Linked DNA regions of Homo sapiens: regions 2, 3 and 4 are each linked to region 1. The links are contacts of gene promoters, found by promoter capture Hi-C in blood cells and fetal thymus (Javierre and others, 2016). All regions are on one chromosome and are shown on one strand. The core of a region is centred on a gene start or on the middle of the fragment in contact, and the rest is flanking DNA. Distances in the headings are between cores, read along the strand shown.

Evidence for each region. Contacts are between HindIII fragments. The CHiCAGO score rates a contact against its expected background, and 5 or more counts as called.
Region 2: a fragment that was not itself captured here is called in contact with the fragment with the promoter of DPT in region 1 in 1 of 17 cell types (M2 macrophages); the score reaches 6.3 in M2 macrophages.
Region 3: a fragment that was not itself captured here is called in contact with the fragment with the promoter of DPT in region 1 in 1 of 17 cell types (M0 macrophages); the score reaches 7.5 in M0 macrophages.
Region 4: a fragment that was not itself captured here is called in contact with the fragment with the promoter of DPT in region 1 in 3 of 17 cell types (M2 macrophages, activated CD4 T cells and naive CD4 T cells); the score reaches 6.7 in M2 macrophages.

The regions. Positions count from the first base shown.
Region 1 is chr1:168,726,138-168,731,134 of GRCh38, reverse strand. It overlaps DPT (dermatopontin), which reads left to right and starts at 1,929. Exons shown (of 4, transcript NM_001937.5): 1 at 1,929-2,265. The coding sequence starts at 1,961. The HindIII fragment of the contact is 3,243 bases long and covers 1-2,567 here.
Region 2 is chr1:169,287,719-169,293,027 of GRCh38, reverse strand. The region is part of intron 6 of NME7 (NME/NM23 family member 7); the gene reads left to right. Among named protein-coding and RNA genes, the nearest start is that of NME7, 77 kb to the left of the region's middle. The HindIII fragment of the contact is 593 bases long and covers 2,966-3,558 here.
Region 3 is chr1:169,358,525-169,363,722 of GRCh38, reverse strand. The region is part of intron 1 of NME7 (NME/NM23 family member 7); the gene reads left to right. Among named protein-coding and RNA genes, the nearest start is that of NME7, 6.7 kb to the left of the region's middle. The HindIII fragment of the contact is 1,185 bases long and covers 2,214-3,398 here.
Region 4 is chr1:169,319,743-169,324,794 of GRCh38, reverse strand. NME7 (NME/NM23 family member 7) reads left to right here. Exons shown (of 12, transcript NM_013330.5): 2 at 295-402; 3 at 1,512-1,678. Among named protein-coding and RNA genes, the nearest start is that of NME7, 46 kb to the left of the region's middle. The HindIII fragment of the contact is 4,815 bases long and covers 1,313-5,052 here.

The sequences.
Region 1 (4,997 bases), core at 680-3,179:
GGTTTCAAAAAATTTGAAAAGCCAAATCATCAACGGATGCATGGAATGGGTAATGAGCACATGAAAAGATGCTCAAAATCATGGATCATTAGAGAAATGAAAATCACAACCACACTGAAATATCACTACAAACCTATTTGAATAGCTAAAATTTTTTAATGGCAATTTTCTGGTAGTGGTGGGCAATGGTATCACCACTTTGGAAATCAGCTAGGTAGTTTCTTGCTTTCTTTTTTTTGTTTTTTTGAGACGGAGTCTCGCTCTGTAGCCCAGGCTGGAGTGCAGTGGCACAATCTCGGCTCACTGCAAGCTCCGCTTCTCGGGTTCACGCCATTCTCCTGTCTCAGCCTCCCGAGTAGCTGGGACTACAGGCGCCCGCCACTAAGCCTGGCTAATTTTTTGTATTTTTAGTAGAGGCGGGGTTTCACCATGTTAGCCAGGATGGTCTCGATCTCCTGACCTCGTGATCCGCCCGCCTCGGCCTCCTAAAGTGCTGGGATTACAAGCATGAGCCACCACACCCGGCCTCAGTAGTTTCTTTTAAAGTTAAACATACATTACCTTGTGAACCAGCAATCTCACTCCTAGGTATTGACCCAAATGAAATAAAAATTTGTTCACACAAAAACCTATACATAGATGTTTATATCAACTTTATAATTACATTTATGTAATTCATTATATAAAATATAATGAATATAAAATTCATTACATAAAAAGTAATGAATTTTCAAAAACTGGAAACAACCCAAATGTCTTTCAACTAGTAAATGTATAAACAATCTGTGGTACATCCATGCTATGGAATATTACTCAACAATAACAAGAAACAAAATACTAACACATACAATGAGATGTTGAATTTTAAAATGGATGAACCTTAAAAGCATTATGCTAAGTGAAAGATGGACATGAAAGGCTACGTGTGGTATGATTCCATTTACTTGACATTCTGGAAAAGGCAAAACCATAGAGACAGAAAGTAAATCAGTGGTTACCAATGGCTGGGTGTTTGGGAAGATTTGACTGCAAAGGGATATAAGGGGATGTTTTGGATTGATGGAACTGTTCTAAGTCTTGATTAGGGTGCTGGCTATGTTACTGTACATTATGTATTTTAAAAGGTGAATTAATTATATGTAAATTATAACTCAATGAAAAGAAAATTCAATGTGAGGGCAAAAATACTGAAGGATAAATAGGGGGTTTATTTAGATTAAACCCATTACATTTTGAGAGCAGAGCACACTTTCTAGACTTGACTGGGTCCAATTTCAGCAGCATGGTAGAATGCTTAAGTGTAGAAATCATATCCAACTTATCTCCCCATGGGCCCATAGTACTTCCTTATGCAACTTATGAGTTCTCAGAGTAGCCCTGCAAACTGGTATACCCGCGCTTATACTCAAGGGTTAAAAAGTGTTGGATTGACAACTTAAAAAAAAAAACAGGCATTCAGCCTTACAGAAATCCTAGATGGCTCTGTTACTTCAGTCTATGATTTCGGTATTTTGAAATCACTGTCTGGGTATTTGTGTGGCCCGGAAGGCTAGTTTGGAGAACAAATACAGGGGTTTGCTAGTAGCGGGTAGGGTAGGACAGAAAGGGGTGAGGTGCTGAAAGGTGAGGGACAAATATGCTACTAATCAGTGTTTTTCAAGTGAATATTTCTACAGGGTAGAGCAGCAGTTGGCTTTTATAATCTAGATACAAAGTTGTTCTTTCTCCAGGGAGCTTCTTAGACTTACATGCTGCTGGTATATTCCTAGAATTCCACCTTAAAACAAGCTGAATGTCCTTATGGCTGACATCTCAGCATGGAAAAGTTTTGCTTAAGCAATGACACACTGCAGTTGGATCCTTCTCACCCACATCTGGAAGCCACATGTCAGCGGCAGCTATATAAAACGGTCAGACCAGCAATCTTAGAGTGACATTGTTTGCCAAAATCCCAGGCAGCATGGACCTCAGTCTTCTCTGGGTACTTCTGCCCCTAGTCACCATGGCCTGGGGCCAGTATGGCGATTATGGATACCCATACCAGCAGTATCATGACTACAGCGATGATGGGTGGGTGAATTTGAACCGGCAAGGCTTCAGCTACCAGTGTCCCCAGGGGCAGGTGATAGTGGCCGTGAGGAGCATCTTCAGCAAGAAGGAAGGTTCTGACAGACAATGGAACTACGCCTGCATGCCCACGCCACAGAGCCTCGGGGAACCCACGGAGTGCTGGTGGGAGGAGATCAACAGGGCTGGCATGGAATGGTAAGGGCCAGTCCCTGCACTGCACTGGGGCTGGGAACATCTCTGCATATCCCTCCTCCTGGGGGCTGCTAGACTCTCAAGGAATATCAGTAACCAAAGCCTGGGCAAATCCCACCCCAAACCTCACCACTGCATGCTCTGGGTGGAGCAGGGCTGCTGCTGAGCGGACTACATGACAGGACAAAAACCTGGGATGGGGAGTGTCTGTGGGAGACAGACTCCTCTGTGGCTCTGTTCCTTCCAGAAGCTGTTCTACCTACTCTCAGTTTGGGCCAGGGGCTGGTGTAGGTCGGCGAGAAGCTTGCTTACCAGACTACCAAAAGATATGTACAGAAACTGAAAGTAATAAACTTTATAGAAATTAAAACTTTCTGTGCCATCGGAATGGCATTTTTCTTTTTTAGAAATTTATTTTTACCATTTTACAAAAGTACTGGCCCACAGTAGTTTGGGAACAAGAAAAATAAACAATTGATCTCTCAGCACGGAGGGTTTGAGAACTATTGATTTAGAGCAAGTGAATGGAAAAGAGGGGACAAGGACATTTAGGCAAAAGAAAGTGGAATTAAATAGCTGTCTACTGCCTTGATTAAATGTGCTCTCTCAATTATGAGTACTGAGGTCCTTCTCTCTGCCTGAATTTAAAGTGGGTTTTATTGCTGGAAAATAGTTTACTAAAGGGTTTTGGAGAGAGGTGCTGTCTTCCCCTGACTGCATTCTGCCTTAAGCAGTGGCATGGAATTTTTTCGAGCTTGTACTTTTTTGTGGGGTGTGATTGTCTCAGCTGGGTCTCAGCCCAGGTGCTTGGTCAGGAGCTCATCCTAGTAGGCACTGACTGCTAGGCTGATTATTTACAACAGCCTAGATGGAGCCAGCACTCTAGGAGGCTTGGAGGAGAGAACGGAGGAGGCAGTCCAGGGAGGAGGAAGCCCACCTGGAGGGCTGCTGCATGTGCTATCTGTAGAGCAACCCAGATGTGTGGCAACAAGTACTTAGTGTAGTGGGGATTGGAGGGGTCAAGCACAAAATCTGGCCAGGTGTGGTGGCTCACGCCTGTAATCCCAAACACTTTGGGAGGCTGGGGAGGGAGGATCACTTGAGATCAAGAGTTCGAGACCAGCCTAGGGAACACAGCCAGACCCTATCTCTACAGAAAAAAAAAAATTAGCCCGGTGTAGTTGCATGCAGCCTGTGGTCCCAGCTACTCAGGAGGCTAAGGTAGGAGGATCACTTGAGCCCAGGGAGTCGAGGCTGCAGTGAGCCATGCTCGCACCACTGTATTCCCTCCTGGGTGGCAGAGCAAGACTCTGCCTCAAAAAAAAAAAAAAAAGAAAATAGAAAAAAGAAAAAGCATAGAACCCTGGGGGACACAACCAGTAGAGAGGTGATGATGGGAAATCCAAGAGGAAGAAACACCGATGGGTGGGGGAGCCAGGAAAGAGAGCGGGCCTTTAAGTAATGACAACAGCTACCATTTATTGAGTGCTTACCCTGAGCAGGCTCCATGCTAAGTGCTTTATGTGGATCATCTCGTGTAATGCTCAAAACAAGGGTATATCCCATTTATAGGTAGACAAACTGCAGTCTAGAGATCCAGTATTTCCTCGGCTAGAAAGCTGGGGTTTGGATCCACAGAGTCTTTGCTTCAAAGAGTTTGTACTTTGCCACAGTGACGGGCTCCTGAGAGGCTGCTGCCTCCACCCAGAGTGGGCTCCCACCCGACAGCTGACTCTGTCAGCAGAGCCAGTGCCACAGGACCAGATTCAGGGCAGTTCTTCCTCCTGGAGAGGGTGGGGACCTGCAAGACCACAGCAGAAGCCCAGCCCCAGAGGGATGATCCCTACTTGGTTACCAGGACTGTGGAGGGGCTCAGCCGGACTGTAGAAGGGGTGGGGAGAGGACTCACACAGGCAGCAGCAGGTGAGGGTGCCGGGGCTGTGGAGGCTGCTTGGACAGCCTTTGTGGGCCATTCTCATCCACCCCCATGGCCTCTGGTGAGCAGATTTAGTTATTCAAAACCCCTTCTGACAGATGCTGATTCAGAGACCAGGCTCACCTTGATTGTTGTCTCCATGACTCCTCACAGCCAGGCCCACTGCCTAATGTGGAGCATGGCAATGACCTAATTACAACTGTCCCTCCAGTCCTCACCTCTCAGGAGCACTATCGCATGGGTGCGACTCCTTTCTAACAGCCGTTTTTTGTGCCACAGTCAAGCAGCACTCAGCCATGGTTCCCCAAGCCATAGAGGAAGAGCCCTAGGCTCTGAATCAGGAGGCCTGGGTCTGGATCCTGGTTCTAATGACTTGTGGTGTGACCTTGGCCCAGACGCTCAGCCCTCCAGTCTCCCGCCTCATTTGGAAAGTGAGCAGTCAGGCTGCATGATCTCTGAAGGCTCCACAGAGCTGTGGCTCACCCCTGAAAACACTCTTGGCTTTTTCTTGCATTCTGTTGATCTTTGTGTTCATCCCTGCTAGAGAGAGAAGCCAAATGATGTTTAGTTTTAAACTTGCCAACTGTGACTGGTTTGTCATGAACTCCCAAACTATTTGAAGAAAAGCAAAAGAGGAAGAAGGTGAAATAACATGATTTTATTTGGCCCATGGGAGTCAAGGGAAAAGCTGATAGGCGAGATACCTCTTCCACCTCCTCTTACTCGGCATTTTTGGGTGTGCAGTGTCTAGTAATTTTGGTTTCCTTTCCTCCTTCCACCCTCTGTTGCCTCCTTCTCC
Region 2 (5,309 bases), core at 2,013-4,512, 560 kb before region 1:
CATCATGCCCAGCCTGCACTGATTATAATTTACCAAAGTATTCCTTTTGTATTCTGTACATCTCTAGGAAAGAAATTTGGGAGCCAGTATTCTTTCTTCTGCCCTGTTTATCCCCTTAATAGAATCAGCAAAAGATCTTGTAGGTTTTTCCTTCTGAACATTTTCTTGAATTATTCCCTTTCTCTGTATTCCTACCATCACTCTTCTAGTTCTGACCTGGGCTGCTGCAAGAGTCCTGGAATATACTTTTCTACCTCAAATATATCTTCCACATAGGCTTCAGAACAAGTTGTCTAAAAATATTAATCCGTCAATCTCATGACTATTAAAAATTTTTAAAGTACTCCATTATTCCCAGAATCAAGTTCAAGCTCCTTGACATGGTTTCCAAGGCGTTCCAGTGATCTGTCTCCCAGCCCCTCCTCCAGCCTTATATCCTGCCTCACCTTCTGTATACTGTGGGATTCTTACTCTGTTGCTTTTACTCATTCTACCCCTCTGCCTTGGAATTCCAATTCTGCCTTTGCCCAGGTAATTTTTATTTGCCTTTTAACACTCAGCTCAGAGTTCTTTATATTATGCATACAAATTCTTTATCCAGAGATATGATTTGCAAGTATTTTCTCATGGTATGTGGTTTGCATTTTCATCCTCTTTAACAATATCTTTGGATGAGCAATTTTTACTTCTGATGAAGTCCAGTATCAGTTGTTCTTTAATGTATTGTGCTTTAGGTGTCAAGTCTAACAAACTGTTCCCACACCTAAGGTCACCAATATTTCATTATTTGCTTCTAGAAGTTTTATAGTTTTAGTTTTTATACTTAACTCTATGATGCATTTTGAGTTAATTTTTATGTAAGGTGCAAGGTATGATCACAATTTGTTATTCTTTAGACATATATTCTTCCAGCATTATGCTGAAAAGACCTTATTTCTTTAATTAATTGCTTTTGCACCTTTGTTGAAAATGTATTGAATATATATATCTGGGTCAATTTCAGCGATTTGTTGTGTTCTATTCATCTACAAGCATACCTCAGAGATAATGTAGATTTGGTTCAGACCACCACAGTGGAGTGAATATGGCTATATAGGGAGTCCCATGAATTTTTTAGTTTCCTGGTATATAAAAGTTATGTTTATACTGTAGGCTACTAAATGCAATAGCATTGTGTCTAAAAAAAACTATGAATATATCAATTAAAAATACTTCATTGCTAAAAAATGCATGCTAACAATCATCTGAGCCTTCAGCGAGTCATAATCTTTTTGCTGATCTTACTTTGATGTTGATGTCTGCTGATTGATCAGGGTTGTTTTTGCCAAAGGTTGAAGTGGCTGTGTCTATTTCTTTTTATTATTATTATTATTATTATTATACTTTAAGTTCTGGGATACATGTGCGTAACGTGCAGGTTTATTATGTAGGTATACACGTGCCATGGTGGTTTGCTGCACCCATCACCCCATCATCTACATTAGGTATTTCTCCCAATGCTATCCTTCCCCTAGCCCCCCACCCCGCAACATGCCACGGTGTGTGATGTTCCCCTCCTTGTGTTCTCATTGTTCAACTCCCACATATGAGTGAGAACATACAGTGTTTGGTTTTCTCTTCCTGTGTTAGTTTGCTGAGAATGATGGTTTCCAGCTTCATCCATGTCCATGCAAAGGACATGAACTCATCCATTTTTATGGTTGCATAGTATTCTATGCTGTATATGTGCCCCATTTTCTTTATCCAGTCTATCACTGATGGGCATTTGGGTTGGTTCCAAGTCTTTGCTATTGTGAATAGTGCTGCAATAAACATACGTGTGCATGTGTCTTTACAACAGAATGGTTTATAATCCTTTGGGTGTATATCCAGAAATGGGATTGCTGGGTCAAATGCTATTTCTGGTTCTAGATCCTTGAGGAATTACCACACTGTCTTCCACAAAGGTTGAACTAATTTACACTCTCACCAACAGTGTAAAAGCGTTTCTATTTCTCCACATCCTCTCCAGCATCTGTTGTTTCCTGATTTTTTAATGATCATCATTCTAACTGGCATGAGATGGTATCTCATTGTGGTTTTGATTTGCATTTCTCTAATGACCAGTGATGAGCTTTTTTTCATATGTTGGCTGCATAAATGTCTTCATTTGAGAAGTGTCTGTTCATATACTTTGCCCACTTTTTGATGGGGCTGTTTGTTTTTTTCTTGTAAATGTGTTTAAGTTCCTTGTAGATTCTGGACAGTAGCCCTTTGTCAGATGAACAGATTGCAAAAATTTTCTCCCATTCTATAGGTTGCCTGTTCACTCTGATGATAATTTCTCTTTTGCTATGCAGAAGCTTTTTAGTTTAATTAGATCGCATTTGTCAATTTTGGCTTTTGTTGCCATTGCTTTTGGTCTTTTAGTCATGAAGTCTTTGCCTATGCCTATATCCTGAATGATATTGCTGAGGTTTTCTTCTAGAGTTTTTATGGTTTTAGGTCTTACATTTATGTCTTTATCCATCTTGAGTTAATTTTTGTATAAGATGAAAGGAAGGGGTCCAGTTTCTGTTTTCTGCATATGGCTAGCCAGTTTTCCCAATACCATTTATTAAATAGGGAATCCTTTCACCATTGCTTGTTTTTGTCAGGTTTGTCAAAGATCAGATGGTTGGAGATGTGTGCCTTTACTTGTGAGGCCTCTGTTCTGTTCCATTGATCTATACTGTTTTAATTTGGGACATTTACAGAAATGATATTCATTTTAAATTACTATTACAAGTACAAAGTTTTGGAGAAACTTTTAACTGGCCACCATTTAGCCATACTTTTATTATCATAATAAAATTATTAGTATAGATTAATTACAAATGCTTTAGTGAAATTACCAGGAAATCCTATCAGCGTGAAAATTTATGAAGTAGTACAACTATATACTTTATAATTTGTTTAAAAATTTAAAAATTATATACCTAAAGCTTTCGAATTCAGTCTGAATTTTTAATTTTTTGTAAAGCTATAAATATTTATTCTTTCCTACTAGGGAATTTAGGAAAATGTAAAAGGCCAAGAGTAATAGCAGGAATCTTTGGAAGAACAGGATCTTTATACAAAATATTTTAGCCCCTCAAATCCCAAAGAAGCCTGGATATTATTTTTGTGACTTTGTTTTATAAAGACTTTGAATTAATTGCCATAACAATGACCTAGTAAAAGCGCTCTTATTCACGTTTCACTAAGAAGATATATTTATGTAAAATCTTTATGCTTTATAAATAAATATTTATTCAGCATAGGTAAATATGGTACTTGAAAATCTGGGTAGTTGGAAAGCTGGCATTTTTATTTTTAAAAATTGAGCGAGAAAAGAAATCAAAGGAAAGTTGAGACAAAAATAATTGGTCAATTAATTGTTAAATAATTTGTTAAACTAGAGACAGAACAATTTATCACTGCTTTTTACTTTGGAAAGACAGATAATAGAAAAAGTACATGGTTTTTGGAGCTACAGTCACTTGGATTTGAATCCTGGCTTTGCCACTTGCTAACTTGTAAGGGCTTGTTACTTAAGCTTTCTGAGTCTCATTTTTCTCATTTGTACACTGTGGATATATTTATTTTGTTTAGCACATGCAGAATTTATTAGGTGCTGAATTTCAGTCATTCCCAAATATTCATTGAGAAACTGCTAGTGAACAAGTAATAAAGATGGACTAAGCCCTGGTGCTCTCCAACACATAGAGGTCAGCTAGATAGGAGAAAACCATCGAAGGAGACTGAGAGGGAGTAGCCAGTGAGGTAGGAAGAAAGGCAAGTAATGAAAGCATTCCAGAGTGTAGGATGTGACAAACTGTGTCAAATACTGTTGGTCAGGTAAGGTGAGGGCTGAGAATAATTAACCAGTGGACTTAGCAACATGGAGGTAGTAAGGGATTTTAATGAGCAGCTTTGGTGGAATGAAAACCTAATTGGTTGTGGATTTAAAAGAGACTGTAGGAGAGGAAGTAAAAATGGAAATGGAAAAGAAAGACATTTCTTTTGAATTTTGTTGTGAAGGGAACAGACCAATGGGAACTCTCGAAAGAGCATGCCCTTTCTAGTTTGCTACTCTATCATATTCTCTTGTCACACCACTTCTACTTCATTCCTTCATTGATCATCTGCCAGGTCCCTGTAGGTATTTGAATTTTCATCTGTACCATAAAGGTTCTCTCGGACCATGCAATCAAAGCATCTGGTATAGGACTAAAAGGGGTAGTTGCTGTTGTTATTGATTAAAAAGAATAATAAATAATGGCAGCAATATGATAGAAAGGCAGTTGGTATCTTAGGAATAGAACACTTTTTATTCTAGTGTCTTACCACTGGAAATGCTCAGGTGTATACACTACTATTTGAATAATTCCTCATCATCCTTGTGTTTAAAAAAATGCTCATCAGTGTGGCACATTAACACATTCTATAATCTTTTCATTTTAAATTTAATGAAAAATAAATACAGTTGATCCATAAACAACACAGGTTTGAACTGCACGAGTCTACTTATATGTGGATTTTTTTCAACAGAAGGATTGAAAATGCAGTATTTGCAAGAGGTGAAACTCACATCTACAGAGATTTGACTTTTCCTATAAGCAGGTTCCACAGGGCTGACTGCAGGACTTGAGCATGCATGGATTTGAGTACACACAGGGATTTGAGTACCAATCCCTTGTGTATACCAAGGGCTATTTGCATTGAGCCAGACATTGTTTTAGGTGCTAGGGGTCCTACAGAGCTATACAACTTAGTTCCCTCTTTTTCAAATTTATGATTTGATGGAAGATAAGTACCCAAATAACCATAACTTTGGGGGAACAAAGGTTGCCGGAAGGAGGCATCAGGAAATGCCTCCTAGTGGAAAGTGGTATTTGAGGTGGCTCTTTACACATTGGTAAGATTCTTTGGAGCTTGAGTCAGAGGGTTTTATAGGAAATAGTAGAAATAATAGCAGTGAAAGCTTAGAGACAGGAAAGCATCTAAATAATTAAAAGAACTGATTAGTGTGAACATCTTTGTGGCTAGTTCAAATTGTTGTGTTGTCATTTTAGTGAACCACATGCAAAGTGAATAACACAGCCTGAATCTGTTTATAAAACATGGTTCATTTGATTTTATTTTATACTAGGCCTATAGTTAGTTTTAAGTAGCTGTAGTTCTCAGATTCCTGATATTAATCTCTGTTCCTATAAAATTTCCTAGTTTTAAATTTTATTTTACATATTTTAATGAAAAATTTAAAATTAAATTTGTGTCTAATTAACTAATGCTTTGGGGAGAATAAG
Region 3 (5,198 bases), core at 1,557-4,056, 630 kb before region 1:
CAACAAGATCAAATACCCTGAGGCAGAAAAGAGATTGGTATATTTTAGGAACTTATGGTTCAATGTAATAAAATAATAGAAACTGGGTGGTGGGATGGTGCAGGGGTGGCTGCAGTAGGGAAAATATGGTGCAAAATACCATGAAATGTGGTTAGGGAGGTAGGCAGAGGCCAGACCACACGTATACGTACAGCAGTGTTTCTCAAACTGTACCTGATGACTCATTACTCAAATTTGTGGTATGTAGCCAGCATTAAAAAGATGACATAAAATAGCAACTTAACATATTCACTACATGTTGTAAGGGTAACGTTCATGAACTTTTGTTTAATTGTATATGTATTGGATGTGTACTGGATTCTGATGTAAAATATATTTCTTACTGTGAGTCCTGATCCACAAAGTTCAAGACACAGGGTACTTTGAATAATATATACTTTATTTGTTTTATCTTATTATTTTATTTTTATTTATTTATTTTTTTTGAGACAGGATATTGCCCTGTCACCCAGCAGGAATGTAGTGGTGAGATCATGGCTCACTGCAGCCTCAACCTCCCAAGTTCAAGTGATCCTCCAGCCTCAGCCTTCCGAGCAGCTAGGATAATAGGTGTGTGCCATGATGCCCAGCTAATTTTTTTTTTTTTTCAGAGACAGGGTCTCACTATGCTGCCCAGCCTGGTCTTGGACCCCTGGGCTCAAGTGATCCTCCCACCTTGGCCTCTCAAAGTGTTGGGATTATGTTTATGTTAGCCACCACGTTCAGCTAATATATAGTTTAAAAGGCAAAATAGTTGAAATCTCAAGGCCTGCAGATATTCTTATTCCTCTTTTGATCTAGTGAAAATGTTCTTGTTGTATGGCAGATACAGCTTTGAATTAACGAAAGCCTAAAATTGGCTAGAGTAAAATTTTCAAGTTTCTTTGTGCATCCAGATCACTCTCCTCCATATTTGCCATCAATCATTTATGAGAAAGAACAGGCCTAAGAAACAGATGTCCCTTCTCTGTGTTCAGTCTAGCCACTGTTGTATGTATTGCAGCAAAGGATTATGGCCTCTCAATAAGCAGCTGAAGATGGAGGTTGTTTGCTCTGTTGGTGAGGCTTCCTGACCACTGCAGTTTATCTAATCAGCTTCTGTCTTCATCTAGTTTGTTATAGTTGAGGCTTCCAAATTCTGGAATCACCTTTATATTGTGAAGCAGAGATAGGGAACCATAGTTTAGCATGTTTCTCATACACCTCATTTAAGATGAAGCGTATGCTGGACTCATCAATTTCTTTTACATATTATAAAGAGGACAGAGAAGGTAATTCTAAGATATATTTGACAAAGATATTAATATTATGTATCTTCTAAAATATAGCATTTATTAGAATATCATTACTCCAGATGAACTGTTAGTGTAATAAAGGACTTTAAAGATTATTAGCTATGTTCCATAAGAACTAATCTAAACCTTTGAAGTAAAATGTCTCAAAGTTGTTTGTTTGTTTATGTATTTATTTATTTTTGAGACACAGTCTCACTCTATCACCCTGGCTGGAGTGCAGTGGTGTGATCTCGGGTCACTGCAACCTCTGCCTCCTGGGTTCAAGCGATTCTCCTGCCTCCACCTTGTGAGTAACTTGGATTACAGGCATGTGCCACCATGCCTGGCTAATTTTTGTGTTTTTAGTGGAGACAGGGTTTCACCATGTTGGCCAGGCTGGTCTCGAGCTCCTGACCTCAAGTGATCCACTTGCCTCGGCTTCCCCAAGTGCTGGGATTACAGGCATGAGTCAAAGTTGTTTTTAACAGAGTTTTCAAAGACAGTTTCATAATTACTGAAGAACAAAATTTTATTCCATGAAATGAAATGCTTTTCAGTTTCCAACTTTATGACGTTTCTCCTAATAGCTTTTCTGGTTTTGTTTTTAGCACCTGCCTTTTTTTTTTTTTAGACAGAGTTTTGTTCTGTCGACCCGGCTGTGGAGTGCAGTGGCGCGATTTCCACTCACTGCAACCTCTGCCTCCTGGGTTCAAGCAATTCTTGTGCCCCAGCCTCCCGAGTAGCTGGGACTACTGGCGCATGCCACCACGCCTGGCTAACTTTTGTATTTTTAGTAGAGACGGGGTTTCGCCATTTTGGCCAGGCTAGTCTCAAACTCCTGATCTCAGGTCATCCGCCTGCCTCGGCCTTCCAAACTGCTGGGATTATAGGCATGAAGCTTGGCACCCAGACAGCATCTGCTTTTTAGTCATCCAGAATTCCTTTTGTTACTTGAATTGCTGATTTGGAAGAATTGCAGTTCCAAAGATCCACAGGATTTTATTTACAAAAAGTGAATCAGAAAGCACAGGGCATAAATTGCAGATATGAAACTCTTAAAAGTTTATTTTCCTATATATTGTATTACAAATGCAGTTTAGAGCCTGTTATATTCTTGTTTAGTAGGAAACAGTGGTATTTGGAGAACGGAATAGTAAGTGGTTAATATAATGCCATAATTTTTTTCATGTAGCTTTTTATTTATTTTTGCTTTCCTTTTTCTGCCTTTTTATTCCCAATTCTTTCTCATTCACCAGTTATTCTTCTATTCGAGAAAGTATTTATTGAGTACTTTCCATATACTGGTAACTGGTGGGTATACATTGATTAATAAGATAGCACACAGTGGCCCCTAACTCATGGAATTTATGGAGAAAAACAGATATTGGAAAATAAATTACAAGTATAAGTTGGATTACAAAAGAAAAATGACAAGGTGAGGTGGAAGTTAGTAATAAAATAGAGTGATCTGAACTAGCCTGGGGTGGTGAGGGAAAGTCTCTTTGATGATAAAACTCTTTAATTGTTTTTTTCCTTAGTTTGAGAGAAAAACAGTTTACATGAATAAATAAACGAATGATGACCTCATATGATGATAAGTACTATGAGGAAAATTAAACTAAGTAATGCAATATTGGTTGGTTCCAAGAGCAAGTAGCCTTGAGTAGGACAATCAGGGACGGTCCTCATGAGGATGTGACTTTTAAGCTGAGATGTCAATGATAGAAAGCAGCTTGCCAGGTGAAACCTAGGAGAAGAGCATTCCAGGCAGAGTCAATAGTGAGCACAGAGGTGCATTAGAGGAACAGGAGGGAGATAGTGTGGCTGGGGCCTAGGGAATGAGAGGACAGCTGGAGGAGAAGAGATCTGAGAGGCAGGAAGGAGCCAGGAATACTGAGACTTATGGAACTTGGGAGGGATTTTGGATTTTATTCTAAATGCAGTAGTATTATACATCTTATATATTTTACCTATTCCATCAAAATATTTTATTTTCCTTGGATTTGCCTTAAACTTTTGCCATATTAATTTGGTCTCTTGGTGCTTATTTTTATCTTATCTGTAAAATTTATGATCTTATAAGCTTTGGGAAATATTTTTCTGAGCTTCTTTTGTCTTTGAACTTCAGAGACTCCTAATTTCATCCCTTATAGTTGCCATTTCATAATTTATTTTCCCATTTCTGGACTTATTTTTTGTTTCTATAATATCTACTCTAAGGTGTGGCGAGCAGAGCTACATATTCCAGATGGGTATGCATTATAGTTTCAACATGGGAGTTATGTTTGCTGCTGTGATCTTCACCTAGTACCTTTCTTGATGCTGCTATAGCATATGATTGAAGTATCTTACTTTCCAGAAGTATCTCCAGCATTCCCAATGAACTTTGTATTCACATTTTTTTCAAAAACTGCCTAAACTTCTTCACTTCCAAAGTTGTCAATATTTAAAACTTTCTGTTAATTAGATGTGAGAAACTGTAGCTATTAAAATGTACTGCTTAATTCACATTTATTTTCTGATACTGGACACTTTGCCTTAATAAGTTGCTGTTGTTCTCTCTCCTGACTCATCTTATGTGCTGTGCCTTCTTCATATTTCTATACTCTTTAAAATGTATCTTCATATGCACACATAATGGCTCTAGAGCTCTCTGATAGATGTAAATTCAACTTTTATCCTTTGTTTTCCATAGTTTCAATATTTACATGATACATATATATGCTATATATGTTTTATATATGTTTATAAAGATATTTAACTTATTCTGTTGTAGAAATATAGGAAAATTACTTAGTCATTTTTAGAAATGAGAAAATATAAAAGTAAAAGTAATAAAATTACATTTATCTATAATAACACTGCCTGTATACAATCGCTATTAATATTTTTGTGTAATATCCTGGTCACATATATACTCATACATATATACACACACACACAGAGATACATATCCTTTAAAATATGATTCTATTATATTCATTGTTTAGAAATCTGTTTTATCCCACTTAATATATCTTTTGCATTTTTCCAGATCAGTTTTAAGAACTACAGCCAGCCCTGGGTAGCCATGGGTTCTGCATCCAGATTCAACCAATTGAGGATTGAAAATATTTGAAAAAAAAAAATAACAATACAATGATAAAAAATACAAATAAAAACAAAGCACTATAACAAGTATTTACATAGCATTTGCATTGTATTACGTGTTGTAAGTAATTTAGAGATGAATTAAAATATACTGGAGGATATGCATAGGTTATATGCAAATGCTATATCATTGTATGTAAGGGACTTGAGCGTCTAAGGATTCTGGTATCTGTAGGAGTCCTGGAACCAATCCCCTGCAAATACTGAGGGACAGCTCTACGTTTTATTCTTTCATTTACTCTGATTTAACCAATCCATTTATTAATTTGTTCTGTTAACACAATACTAACATATTTTTGCGAACACATTTTTATAGACATCCATAATTATTTCCTTACAATAAATTAAAAAGGAAATAACTAGGTGCGAGAGGTCATGTGCATTTTTAGGCTTTCAATATACATTGCCAGACTACTCCCAAAATAGTTTTGCCAGTGAATACTCTGCTAGCAGTATACCATGGTGCCTGTTTCTTCTAAACTCTAAACTGGTATTTCTATACATTACATACATATGTCTAACAATAGATTTGAACTTTTAATAAAACTGTCACCTGCTTTGCTCAGAATATTGAGAGAAATATAAATTACTGTATGTTCTATAGATGAAAGGCACTGTTAATACTTACCTACAATATTTCTTTGTAATTATTGTTTTACATCTATTATAAATTGTTAAAATTCAAGGTTTATTGTCTGACTGTAGTGAAGAATATTAAGTTGGCCTTTTTTTAAC
Region 4 (5,052 bases), core at 2,471-4,970, 590 kb before region 1:
GAGCTCATGTTCTCAGAAAACGTTAATTTACTCAGGATGATTAGATGGCTGTAAAGTAAAAAGCAATCCATAAGTCATCTTTGAGATATCTAAGGGTATTTAGTGAGAAATTGAAAGGAAATATTGCTGAGGGTGTGTTGATAACTGATACTTTGTTGAAAAGCAGAAACATTCAATATAATAGGTAGAAGTAATTTTGTTTCTTGCATATTGGTAATTTCATTTTGTGTGACTTACAGAAGAGTGCTTGTTCTTTATATGTTAGTGTTAAAATTCTTCTGTCTTTCTTTGCAGAATCATAGTGAAAGATTCGTTTTCATTGCAGAGTGGTATGATCCAAATGCTTCACTTCTTCGACGTTATGAGCTTTTATTTTACCCAGGGGATGGATCTGTTGAAATGGTAAATAAGCCTTTCTTTGCTTGAATGTTGGCAAAGGGGGTGAACATGGGAACCATTGCCTTTTATATAATTGCTTTTTAAAAACACATTTATATGTATGTGTGTGTGTATATATACATATGGAAATTCTTTTTAAACTTATTCATTATAATTCCAATATAAGAAGTTAACTTGTGCCTTTATTTTTAATGTCAAAAATAGGAATTTTTTGTTGTTGTTGTTAGAAGACTGAAGTGGGGGCTGGGCGCGGTGCCTCATGCCTGTAATCCCAGCACTTTGGGAGGCCGACCCAGGCAGATTACTTGAAGTCAGGAGTTCGAGACTAGCCTGGCCAACATGGTGAAAACCCATCTCTACTAAAGATACAAAAAATTAGCCGGGTGTGGTGGCACATGCCTGTAATCCCAGCTACTCGGGAGGCTGAGGCAGGAGAATAGCTTGAACTCAGGAGGTGGAGGTGGCAGTGAGCTGAGATCACGCCACTGCACTCCTGCCTGTCCTGCCTGGGCGACTGCATGAGACTCTTGTCTCAAAAAAAAAAAAAAAAAAAAAAAAAAGACTGAAATGGGATTATTCATGTTTTGGATAAGAAATAAACAAGTGATTATAGATAAGGATTATTATGGTCATAAATACGTCCTCATTATTGAAAGCTGTTATTGCTACAAAAAGTCAAATTGAAGAGGCTCAAGCTAAGAGACTTCTGTTTCTTTGTGTTCTTTCACTGGCAACACAATTTTAACAAGTAGATCTTTTTGGTATTGGGATTTTGTGTACACAAGAAAGCAGAAATTTGGGTGTATGACTCTTTCTTTAGCATTTTGTAAGGACTACTTTGCTGAAATGATTTGGTAATAAACAAATCTTTCTATTCAGGTTTTTAAGAGTATTAAATTTGTAATAAGAAGCTTTTATGTTATTACCAGATTGGATTAGGAAATATGGAAGTTATTAAAAATTATGATTTATATTTGTAACAAAAAAGAAACAGAATATAACCTATCTTTGATAAGACAGAATTAAGAATTATTTCTACCTTATGATGAGATTAACTTTCCTTATTCATAACTTTTTTTGTTTGTTTGTTATATTGTTGTGTCTGGTTCTAGCATGATGTAAAGAATCATCGCACCTTTTTAAAGCGGACCAAATATGATAACCTGCACTTGGAAGATTTATTTATAGGCAACAAAGTGAATGTCTTTTCTCGACAACTGGTATTAATTGACTATGGGGATCAATATACAGCTCGCCAGCTGGGCAGTAGGAAAGAAAAGTAAGAAAACAATTATATAATCTTTTTACATGCTCTAACTTTGGGTTCAAAGTCAATCTGAATCAAGACTGGGAGTATGTAACCATATGAGGATGGATAGGACCTGGAAAATGGTTGTCTTCATTCTTTTTCTTTTTTTCAATTTAAAAAAAAATTGATAATACCATAGTTGTGCATGTCTCATCTGACTTAATTCATGTTTATGTCTCCTGTGGCACTTAGCACATCTCCATCCACATTGCAAGCACCTTGTCTGTATTAGCTGAACGAATTAATGAATCACAATTTAAAATCTATGATCTATTCTTTCCTTTTTCCACTTTCTCCCTGTTTTCAAATGATGATCTTTGATCTAGTTGACCAGGAGGTTTTTGCCTAGATTGTTTGTAACTAATGCTGCCTATTGTCAAGTTTTGTTAACAGATATATATATATATATTTATATCTAATAGATGTTGACCAACGGATCAATTGAAAAATGACAATGTGAGTGTTGTAAAAAGGAAAAAAAAAAGAAACCATATAAAGAAATTATGATACAGGGAGACTGATGTATCTTATTCATAACTGTATCCCTAAAAACTGTTGTAGTGATACCTCAAACAGTAAATTATTCACAGAGTGTGACCCACAAAAGTTTGTTAAATATATGAATGAATAAATTTATGTCATCGAAATGTCTGGAGGTACGGTATGTCTAAAGGAAGAGTTTCCCACTGGCTGGCATCCCCGCCTCCCTATCTTCCTCCCACTGCATGTGGCTCTTTCTGTGAGAGAAACTGTGACATGGTGCCTCCACATGTGTCCCTGTTCTTCTCTCTATTGTTTGTCAAAGCTGCATTCATCATTCTTTTTCTCAGTTTTGATTTAGAAGAGATACAGTCATCTGTAAAAGGGGCTAAGAAAAAAAATGGAAGAGAAAGAACAACTTGTAGATACAGCTGAAAATTAGACTTATAGAAAACAAGAAAACAAGGATTTTTGATGTTTTCCTTCTGAATACTGATTTTCAGTATTAGCAAGATGACATTTTAATTTTCAGTCTCTACATTTATGAATTTCAACTTTCTGAGACTAGAATTAATTATATTTGAAGTGAAATTTTAATTCCTTTGTCATCTTTCTTGGCTTTAATTTCTGTAGCTTATACTTTGTATGGTTTGGGGAGTTTTTTTTTCCTGTAGAGTGATTGGTGCTGTAATTAAAATAGGGATTATTTGTAGAAGTTAAGGCTATATGTATAAAAGGCTCCAAAAATGATTTAATTCAATAGGGAAAACAAATCAATCAAACTATTTTTTGAGATCTACTACTCAAATGACTAGCTGATTGCCTAACGTCTGAGTCACTCTTATAGTAATATGATATCTCTTTCTGTGACTTCCATAGTCTTTCTGTATAAGCACTTTATAGCTCTTGAGGTGATTGGATTCTTAGTGTGGGTGTTAGTACACAAATGGTGATGGATCAGAGGGGTGGTGCATGCCTCATTAAAAAGGAAGACCAAAGACTCTCTTTGAAATAGGACAGAAATTTCAGGTATTAGATAAATAAATAGGAATCTTTTAATGTTATGAGATCTTATGTAAAAGTCTTTGGGATTAAAGAAATGCCAACCATAATTCCTTTATTTAAAACTCATAAATATGTGTAGCATTCATTTATGGAGCACATACTATGTGCCAGACACTATGATATGCACTTTACATACACCTCAGTTCAAGACTACTTTATTTTATTTAATTATTGTTATTTTTGAGGTGGGGTCTGGCTCTGTCACCCAGGCTGAAGTGAAGTGGCATGATCATAGCCCACTGCACCCTTGACTTCCCATGCTCAAGTGATCCTCCCATCTAAGCCTCCCAGGTAGCTGGAACTACAGCCATGCACCACTATTCCTGGCTAATTTTTTGGTATTTTGCTAGAGATGGAGTTTGGCCTTCTTGCCCAGGCTGGAAGACTGCTTTAAATTTTTATTTAAACTAGCAAAATAAGTGAGTTAGGGAGTCAGGGTTAACAGTCTGACCTAAGAAAAATAAAATAACAACCATAAAAATTATAATTTATGTATTTTAACTATGATTTGACTGAAGTGAATGTTGTTAAATCTATTTTATAGAATGGGTAAGTAACTTGTCCACAGTAACACAGCTAGAAAGTAAAGGGAAACCAGAAAACCGTGTTTTGTTTTTCCCTAAAATTCATTCTCTTTCTACTAAACCTCTAATTAATATGCTGGCAAATACTGTTGAATGGGACTGATTTTAAAACAGGATGAACAGAAGAATTCTATTTTAATGTAAAAACAAATTTGAAGTATTTGGGCTTTATATAGTTAATGAAAATGAAAATATATGTAGTATATATTTTACTGACTCAAATTGATTCACCATTTTCTCTTCTTATTCTTTCTTAATTGCATATGGGTTAGTAAATCCAACAACCATTTGGGTGATTTAAATAAACTTCTTCCAAACCGAAGAGTTTCAAAAATTTATTGTTTTATTTAAATGGCAAAAAGTAAGCATATGGAAATATGTGTGTATGTCTATCAGCGTTCCACAGAAACACCTTCTATGTAACAACCGATTTAGTCTAGTTCTCAGTTTTGTATAGTGTTGAGAAAAATTTTTGAACCAATTACATTTTCAACTCTTTTCTTTCTATAGTAAAGCCTGTAGTGAGGAGGATGAGTGAAATTGATCCCCATGGAGCCTATCAGCTAATTGGGGAGCAGTTATCCAGATAATTTAATATAATTCAGCTTAACTCATGAACTAGCTTCAGCTTTCCAATTCCCTTTGACTGTAGAAATCTGACATTTGATTCACATTTTTATCCTCTCTTTATAAAGATCCTCTAATCAAATGGATAAAGGTTACAAGTTGTCAATGAGTCAGTCTTTGATTTTAATTTTAGCTAGTAATTAATTGGTGCTTTATGATTGTTGTTTAGATTTGGAGACACGATACAATTTGTGTCTTTCTAAAAATTTATTACCTCAAACCAGAAATAATTAAAGTTTTCATATGATGAGTCAATATGTATATGTATGCATGTGTATGAATGATAGAGGAATTTTATATGAATAGACAGCTATTCCCCATGTGATAAGTGAGGTATTAAATGTTTACTTTGATAGCTTATATCTTTAGTAAGAAGTTTATAAAAATCAATGAAAAATAATGCTAGTATCCTATTTAAAAATCCATTAATTTTAAGTACTGAGCCACATATTTACATTGAGCAATCCTCATTCCTTTTGAGTCTCAGCCAGAAAGCAAGCCATCTAATCAAATTAAAGGGAGAAAGGCATCAGTAGGTTGGGTGAACAACATTATAGTAGATGTTAAATACATGAAATTCTTGTGCCC